2 separate regions of the Homo sapiens genome follow, and region 1 is linked to region 2. Evidence: promoter capture Hi-C in human tissues and cell types (Jung and others, 2019). All regions are on one chromosome and are shown on one strand. The core of a region is centred on a gene start or on the middle of the fragment in contact, and the rest is flanking DNA. Distances in the headings are between cores, read along the strand shown. Region 1 has its middle 34 kb from the start of TEKT3. Region 2 holds the start of PMP22 (peripheral myelin protein 22).

Region 1 (4,804 bases), core at 806-3,305, 110 kb before region 2:
AGGCTTCATTTATCCAGCAGCTCATGGAGAAAAGCACCTTCCACGCGTTATAAGGATCCTTTTTGTCTGTTTGGGCCCTTGTAGTTGTGAATGACTCAAGTGTGGAGAACTATTCAGCACTATTCATAAGTATGAGTTCTACCAGCTTGCTGTGGAGCTCAGAAGCAACCTGGCCTGACTCAGAGAGCTTTCAAGAAGTCATTATGAAGACTAACGAAGGGCACCACAAGGGGGTGGACTGAACACCCAGATAAAAATGACTTGAAATATTAAGTTCGTGACAGCACCAAGAAATAAGATGAGTACCATATTAGTCAGTTCTCCAAGGTGGGGGCAAACCAGAAGAGCAGAAGATGTAAACCAGAGGGCATCCCAGAAAAAGGCTGCTATGCAGATGTGGTGGGGCAAGGAAGCCCCAGACCCAGAGTCTAGGTAGAAACAAGGGCACAGGCGGGGTCCTGGGGCTTTCTTCAGGGCAATTAGTTGGAAGGCCAGGCAGGCAAGGCAGCCCCTTCCCTCAATCTCAACTTCTGCTATGCAGCAAGAAGCCATGACTGCAGATAGTGTGGTGGGCAACTGGGGCTCAGAAAGAAGGAGGTACCCTGGAGCCTACTACTGCAGCTAAAGAGGGATAGAGACCTGTCCACACACATTAAACGCCTCCGCACATTCACCAAGAACAAGAGACACAGACGATAAACTGTGTCCACAGACAGGCAAGGAGGAAATTCTCAATACAAAGAGAAGAGCAAAAATCATCAGACACTCCAGAAAAACAAACACATGAAACAAAACCACTAAGCTGGCTCGGCGCGGTGGCTCACACCTGTAATACCAGCACTTTGGGAGGCCGAGGTGGGCACATCACCTGAGGTCAGCCGTTCGAGACCAGGCTGACCAACATGGAGAAACCCCGTCTCTACTAAAAATACAAAATTAGCTGGGCATGGTGATGCATGCCTGTAATCCCAGCTACTCAGGAGGCTGAGGAAGGAGAATCACTTGAATCCAGGAGGCGGAGGTTGCGGTGAGCCGAGATCGCACCATTGAACTCCAGCCTGGGCAACAAGAGCGAAACTCCATCTCGAAAAACAAAAACAAACAAAAAAAAAACACAAAACACTAAGCTTAATAAGGCAGAGAAGGAAATTATCTTCTAAGGAAATAGTGAAAATGACCAAATACTTTAAAGATTATTAACATCTTATGATAGGTTACTTGGGGGGAATCGCCACAAAATAAGAATAGTTGGTATAAAACAAGAATCAAGTAGAAACTTTACAAATTTAAAATAAGTGACTTTTAAAAAACTTCAGCATAGTGAGCAAATAACCAAATGTGAAAACTAAATCAGTGGGCTAAACGTCCAAGCCAAGAAAGTCTTCCTAATTTTTTCTTAAATTTAAAATTAAACAAGTTTAATTTGTTGTAAAATACATTACCATCTTAATTATTTTTAAGTGTACAGTTCAGGGGCATTAAGTACATTCATATTGTTGTGTGACCATCACCACCATCCATCCAGAGAACTCTTCCTATCTTGCAAATCCCAGACTCTGTACCCGTTAAAAAACCTCCCACCGCAACTCAACCCAGCCTCTGGCAACCACCATTCTACTTTCTATCTCTATGAATTTAACTATTCTAGGTCTCTTATGTAAGTGGAATCATTCAGCATTTGTCCTTTTGTGGCTGGCTTATTTCACTCTGCATTATGCTCTCAAGGTTCAGCCATATTGTAGCATGTGTCAGAATTTCCTTTCTTTCTAAGGCTGAATAATATTGCCTTGTCTGAAATACCACACCTTGTTTATCCATTCGTCTGTCAGTGGATACTTGGGTTGTTTCTACCTTGTGACTATTGATGCCATTCCCTGATTTTTATGCTATAGAACAAACCATTGAAAGAATAAAATAAAAAGTAAGATATGTATAGATTCAGGAGCTCCAAATACCAAAATTTGAGATGGTCTGGGGAGAGGTAGAAAACTTAAATAAAACAATAACCACAGAAAAATTGAAAAGGCAGTCAAAAATCTAACCCTTAAAAAGATAGAAGGCCTGGATCCTTTTCTGGACACATTCTACCAGAGACTATGTGATATTAACTCTCCCAGAGCATAGAAAAAATGCAAACGTTCTCAATTCATACCACAGGCATAACTTTGAAACTGGACAAGAGCAGAAGGAAAAGAAAACACCTGTTAAAACATGGCAGATCAAATATCTATGTGTATCATTTTTTCTTTTCCCCACTCTCCACCCAAGACCACTCTAACGTAACGTTATAGAAACACAAAAGGTTCTGAGTCCTCCCAGGAGGGCTCAGAAGACAAGACAGGAGCCACCAGTGTGTGAGAGATTTAAACCAATTTCTGGAATATGGAAAACAGGTGGGAGAGAAGAACTGACTTAGCAAAGAGGCAAAAACTGCATTCTAAAATTAGTTGAGTAGGGGATACTGGAAGAAAACAGGTGACTTCATTCATAGAGTCCATAAAACTCTTTGGAGAGTCTGGTCTTGAAAGCATCAGGTCCCACAGAAAGTGGGAGGCAAGCTGGGGGCTGCAAAAAGGCTACAGGAGCACAGACTTCATCCAGAGTTGGGGGTCTCCAGATTGATCTAGCCTGACCTCTGCTCCATGTATAAAGTTGCAGGTTTATATTACAGACAGATTAGATAGAAGGAGTTCTGGTCTTGAACATTTTAGGCACAATGAGGTGGTGTGGTACAGGGATGAAAATGGGTATGAAATGAAGCTCTGCATCCTTCTGCTCTCTTCCCTGGCTCTGCTCACAGTATGCCCCCAGCCACACACAAGGACGTGATTTGGAAAATTCTGACCCAGAGAAAATAGCTCCATTCATTGAAACCTGGAGGTGCCCAAGTGTGGCAGCTGCTGCTTGACAAGTCTTGGCTGTGTACTTTGAGCCTGCAGTCATCTTCTTAGTGCCCCTAAGACTCTGAAACATACATGGGCAGTCAACTTTCATCAGACATTTGGGGGAAGGGTCCAAAACAAACATAAGAAACCAGGTAAGAAATTATGCAGGGCAGACGAGAAACCTTCAAAAATACTGTAGCACTGATGTCTCCAAAGAGGTGAGAGGTGACATTGCATTCATACAATAAGAACCTCATTCTCAGAAAAAAAAAATCAGACAACAATAAAAGCTCTTGGAAATTTGAAGTAGCACAGCAGAATAAACATTAGAGGAAGACTGGGAAATACAATTGAGAAAATCTTCCAAAATGTAAAGATGTCATGCAAAGATATGGAAAATCGTAGAGAAACAATAAGAACATTTATATATGTATATGTATGTGTGTGTGTGTGTGTGTGTATATATATGTTTTCTTTTTTTTTTTTTTTTTGAAATAGAGTCTCACTCTGTCTCCCAGGCTGGAGTGCAGTGATGCAATCTCGGCTCACTGCAACCTCCGCCTCCCGGGTTCAAGTGATTCTCCTGCCTCAGCCTCCAAGTAGCTGAGATTACAGACATGCACCACCACACCTGGCTAATTTTTGTAATTTTAGTAGAGATGGGTTGTCACCATGTTGGCCAGGCTGGTCTTGAACTCCTGACCTCAGGTGATCCACCCTCCTCAGCCTCCCAAAGTGTTGGGATTACAGGCGTGAGCCACTGTGCCTGGCCTAAAGGATCTATTTAAAAAAAACAAAATTCATCTAATAGGAGATCCAGAGGAAATGAAGAGGAGGAAATTATCTGAGACATGGTACAAGAAGACTTTCTAGAACTGAAGGACATGACAGTCCAGGTAATAAGAGATAAGCAAGGATCAAAAACTATTACAAGTAAAACAAACAAAATGAACAAATAAAAACAACAACAACAAGCTCATGACAAGTCTATCTTTTATGAAATTTCAGAACAATAGGAATTAAGAAAAGACACTGAAAGATGAAAGAGGGAAACCGGGTCTCATAAAGAAAGAATTAGGAATCAGTGTGGTTTCACACAACCTTGGAAGGCAGAAGGAAAAATATTTTCAAACTAGAATTTAATAATGAGACAAATAGCTAATCAAGTGTATAAGTGAAGAATAATGACATTTTTAGATATACAATTATTTGCCACATAAACACATTCCAGTCAACAATGAACCTGCATATAACAGAGGTCCCATAGGATTATAATCGAGGTGAAAAGTTCGTATTACCTAATGGCATCATAGTCTTTGTAATGTCATAGCACAACATATTACTCATGCAAACCTATGATAAAAAAGTAAACCAGGCAAATCACTATGAACATATTTATGAAAAGAGTGACACTTCCTCCAAAAGAGCTTCAGGCAGGTCCTGCAGGAAGTGTTCCAGAAGAAGACATTGTTATCATAGGAGATGACAGCTCCCTGTGTGTTAGTGCCCCTGAGGACCTTCTAGTGGGATAAGACATGGATATGGAGAACAATGATATTGATGATCCTGACCCTGTGTAGGCCTAGGCTAATGTGTGTGTTTGTATCTTAGTTTTTACAAACAAGTTTAAAAAGTAAAAAATTAAAAATGGAAAATAGCTTATAAAATAAGGATATAAAGATAGAGAATTTTTTTTTTTTTTTGAGGCAGAGTTTTGCTCTTGTTGCCCAGGCTGGAGTGCAATGGTGCAATCTCGGCTCACTGCAACCTTCGCCTCCCACGTTCAAGTGATTCCTCTGCCTCAGCCTCCCGAGTAGCTGGGATTACAGGCATGCACCACCATGCCTGGCTAATTTTGTATTTTTAGTAGAGATGGGGTTTCTCCTTGTTGGTCAAGCTGGTCTCGAACTCCCAACCTC
Region 2 (4,511 bases), core at 117-2,616:
CCACACTGTACCTCATCTCCATTTGGGTTCCACAACAGAAGGGAGCTGGAAGGAAATCAGCGACAATCTAACTCCACATGACAACCTGGCTGGACAACGAAACATCCAGCGGGGAGAAAGACACTGGAAATTACCCATACCTGAGCCCCATCCCAAAACACCTGAGTCAGCTTCTCTGACCATGGCCCAGGCTAGGTCATTTGCAAAGCTCTTGAGTGATTCTAAAGAACCACTGCTGTGAAAAATAAAAATGATTTCAGCAAAGAGAGAAAGGTGAAACTATTTTATTGGCACTGGCTGTGATGCTGGCTGTGAGCAGATGCTGGCTGTGGGCAGAACAGGGGAGAGGGCCATTGAGAGGCCCTTGTGACTGGAGAGTCCAATCAAACGTAAAGTGTGTGACAGGGAGGGACTCCTCCAAATTCTGCAGGTCTCTCCAGACTGGGGATCCCTAACACAAGAGGAAGTCTTATGCCCCAAGTGCCAGAATTCCAGGAAACTCATGCAATGAAACCAGTCCTCTTGTGTCAGAGTTTGCAGCTAGAAGCGGTTCAAGGGATGGAGGACTCTCTGGGAGCTGGAGTGGTACGCTGCAAAGAACCTAAATATGCCATAACTTCCTTTACTTCCCTCTCCAAGAATTTCCAATTGCTCTTCCAGCCTATTCTGCCTGACAGGTTAGAAAGTTTTCAATAGTTTTCAATAGAGGTTCGTTTACTTGCATTGAATTATCTCATGAAGGTCAGCTTGATTCGGGCACATTAAAGACAGAGTCGGAAGAACACATTTCCCTAAGTTTTATTCTAATGTACAACACATGTGATCATTTGCGATGGGGTCTAGGCAGACAAGGCAGGTAACAGGGAGTCCTTCCAACCAGGGGTTGGAACAAAGGAGGCTTGATTTGGTGACTCTTGAGACATTTGGCTCACTGCTGTGATGCTGTGAGAGATTAGCTGTGCAATGTTTGGGCTCCTTAAAAGGAAGTTTATTTAAAATAAAACTTACCTGCACGTATGTAACACTGTAGACACAGATCCTTCCCACAGTATATTTAATCTCTGCAGAATTCACTGGGAGGGGAGGGGAGCCAGTGGGACCTCTTGGCTATTACACAGGTTGGCACTTCCAGAGAGAACAGTCTTGGCATCACAGGCTTCAGGCATACTCAAAGCTCTTCTCCCTTCTGATTCCAGTTTCTCCATGCCCTGCAGGGCCTCTTGGGATTATTGTATTCTGGAAAGCAAACAAAGTTGGACACTGTCTCTTTAAATAATAGAGGCTGAGAACCTCTCAGGCCACCATGACATATCCCAGCATTGGACCAGCCCCTGAATAAACTGGAAAGACGCCTGGTCTGGCTTCAGTTACAGGGAGCACCACCAGGGAACATCTCGGGGAGCCTGGTTGGAAGCTGCAGGCTTAGTCTGTCGGCTGCGGGTCTCTGACTGCCCTGTGGGGAGGGTCTTGCCTTAACATCCCTTGCATTTGGCTGCAAAGAAATCTGCTTGGAAGAAGGGGTTACGCTGTTTGGCCGGGTGAGTTTTATTGGCAAACTGTGCCTCTGGGTGATGTGTGCCTATGCTTTACAAGAATTGCCTAATTTCCCACCCCCTGCAAGCCGCAAATGAAAAGGATTGCAGGAGAGATGGTGCATTTGTGTTGGAATTGACTGGAGATTCAGAGGGCTTTTTATATCCTTGGTTAAAAGGTGGATATATACTCTGGCTGGGGAGGTGGGGGGCCATCTGAGAGCATCTAGAAACCCTAATGCATCCAGATTGAAAGGAAGAAAGGAATCTAGATGCTTTTTCCCCCATGGAAAATAGCTGTGCACACACAGCTGGCAGGTGGCCTTGGTAAGCAGGTTAGGGAGAAGCTGCCACCTGTGGCAGAGCCTTGGCCAGCCGGGCTCTGGGTGTGGCAAGCCTGGTCAGCAGGCACTGAGTAGCACTTCCTCTGCCACCATTGAGAACCAGGCAGGAGGCCAGAGGCAGTGAGGGACAGATGGGTTGGGTTTACCTGTCTGGCAGTATATGGTGTGGCTGTGACCTGGGTGGTTATTGATTAAACTATTGGGTTCAAAAGAAAGGAAGAAGCGAGCTGTAGCACCCAATATATGCACTTTTCTGTATGTGTATTAGACTTTATTAAAAAGTTTATTTGAAAATCACAAAGGAAGGGAAAGAAAACCCTGAGTTAGATATGCTCATATTTCTAAAGTGCTTACTTAGAACAGTCCTGAGTATGTTGTGATCACATAAGTGTTGGTTAAATAAATAAATGTCCAAATGGCATAAAACAAAGTAATAATTTCTAGAGCAAATCTAACTTATAAAATGACCTGTGGAGGAAAGAAAACACTGCCATGTCTTTAGACTTTTTTTTCTACTTGCATATGCACTTTCATTTATAAATCTTTATCTATCTATCTATATCTATCTATCTATCTATCTATCTACCTACCTACCTACCTACCTATCAGAGTTACAAGCTACTTTAGTGCAGAGGTGGTCAGGTCTTCCCTGAAAGGTTGATGTGAGAGTTAAATGTGATATAATAATAGTGGTGGCAATTTGGGCACTGGGCCCTTATTATGTTGCAGACACGATGTTAACTGCTTTGTACATATTGTCTCCTTCAATCACCACCATAAACCTTTAAAGCAGGCATTACTATTTCCTTTTGCACCTGAGAAAACTGAAGCTCAGTGAACTTGAGAAATTGCCCAAATTCACAACAAAAGTAAGCAGGGTGATTAGGTTTGTTGGAGCCCAGAGCCAGAGTGCCTAACCACTGCACCATACTGCCTCTCACAGACCATGCATATAAAGTCCAGGCAAAGTGCTTGGCATATAACGGGCACTGTAAATGCAGTGTTTACAAGTACACTTCATTTTAATCTGATAACACGATAGTTTTAAAAAGATCATTGTTTGAAGATCTTTTTCAAATTTATTTTTACTTACCGTAAGAATATACAATTAGCTAAAATAGCAGCTCCTTTCAAATCGTAAAATAATATAGAATTATTTGAATCATTGAGAGTGATGAGCTTCTATGACACAGTACACTAGAGGTAGGGAAGTGTGTGTGTGTGTGTGTGTGCGCGCGCGTGCGTGAACTGCTGCATTTTCAGGCAGAAACCTTTAACATCCACATTCCTGCTCCCTGTCCCGTGCCTCAAGGCTGGCCTGCGCACGGGAGTCTCAGTTGGGCGCGCCTCTGCCAAGCCGAGACTGAAGGGGGCTAGCCTCTCTCCCTGTAACGCTGGGCGGGCCACGTTAGGAGGCTATGAATCAGCTGATTTCCTTGGCTGCTCCAACCCCACCTCAAATGGCCACCTCGCACCCGCCCGCCAAACCCCATGGCCAGGACTCCAGCCAAGGCTGACAGCCAAGCCCGACTGCTGCAGGAACACTTTGCCTAGAGCTTATTCGGTGGTAGTCTGGTTTTGCCTAGGCTAGGAGGAGCCCAATCCCAGACCATGCTATCCAGTAGTCGGCCGGACTTTTCTTCCCCTAATTCGCACCCAAGAGGAGCCCGCTAGATCAATCCCCGCCAATCCTAGGAAGCTGGCATGCTTCGTAGGTGCAGACAGTAATAGCGGGGACCGGCGCGGGGCAGGTGTGTCCGGCTAAGACGCCAGGACAGGGCAGGGGCTCCAGGACCCGAGAGGAGAGGGACTTCTTCCAGCGCTCAAGCGCCCGCTGCCCTCTATTAGTGGGAAAGGAATCCAGCCTCAGCCCCGCGCGGGCGCGGTCGGCGTCGGCGGGCCCAGAAGCCCAGCCCTGGGCATCCGCTGAGCTACATTTGGCTGGGTCTTCCCAGAGTGGGCTGAGGAGCCAGTTTCTCGGTCAACACTAGGTCTCCACGGGGCCAGGGGAGAAGGGAGGTGGGAGGTGAGAAAGCTCAGCCGCCTCTGGTTTCGAGTAAAAGTCGCCGCGGTTTTGCAGGGACCGACTTTTTCTTGAGGCGCATTTAAGGCCAAGTGACTGTCTCCTGCCCTCCCTCTCTCCTGCCCCCTCTCCTCCCTGAGTCCCGCCCTCCCGCACACGCTGACCCAGGGACACACCCTACTGCAGCGACGCAAACAGGGCGTTGTTCCCGTTAAAGGGGAACGCCAGGAGCCTCCCACTGCCCCCTTGCTTCGCGCGCGCGCAGCCCCGCAGCGCAGCTTTGGCGGCGCCAGCAGCGGAGCCAACGCACCCGAGTTTGTGTTTGAGGCCACCCTGAGGATCGGGACAGCTGTTCCTTTGGGCTGTAAGTGATTTGGTGGGGAGAGTGAAGGAGATGGAGGAGAAATGTGGGCATCTTCCAGTGAGGGTGCCAGAAAGCGCAGCGCAGGCGCGGGGCTTTGGCCAGCTCCCTGGGGCTTCTGTTTAGGGGCACAGGGTCCCCTGTGTGTCCTGTTTCCCTCCAATGGGTCTTGGAGTAATACAACGAGGAGAGCCTTTATGGTCTATAAGACCTTACAGGGCAAGGGTGATGGTGCTGGTGTCTGGATAGCG

What was found. The method cuts DNA at HindIII sites, captures the fragments that hold promoters and counts their contacts. A contact is called where the count stands out against the background at its distance.
Region 1: a fragment that was not itself captured here is called in contact with the fragment with the promoter of PMP22 in region 2 in 3 of the 25 tissues and cell types used here (IMR-90 fibroblasts, hippocampus and liver).

The regions. Positions count from the first base shown.
Region 1 is chr17:15,372,807-15,377,610 of GRCh38, reverse strand. No RefSeq gene overlaps it. Among named protein-coding and RNA genes, the nearest start is that of TEKT3, 34 kb to the right of the region's middle. The HindIII fragment of the contact is 5,946 bases long and covers 1-4,804 here.
Region 2 is chr17:15,262,181-15,266,691 of GRCh38, reverse strand. It overlaps PMP22 (peripheral myelin protein 22), which reads left to right and starts at 1,366. Exons shown (of 5, transcript NM_000304.4): 1 at 1,366-1,538. LOC124903931 (a long non-coding RNA gene) reads right to left here. Exons shown (of 2, transcript XR_007065632.1): 2 at 783-1,236. The HindIII fragment of the contact is 30,387 bases long and covers 1-4,511 here.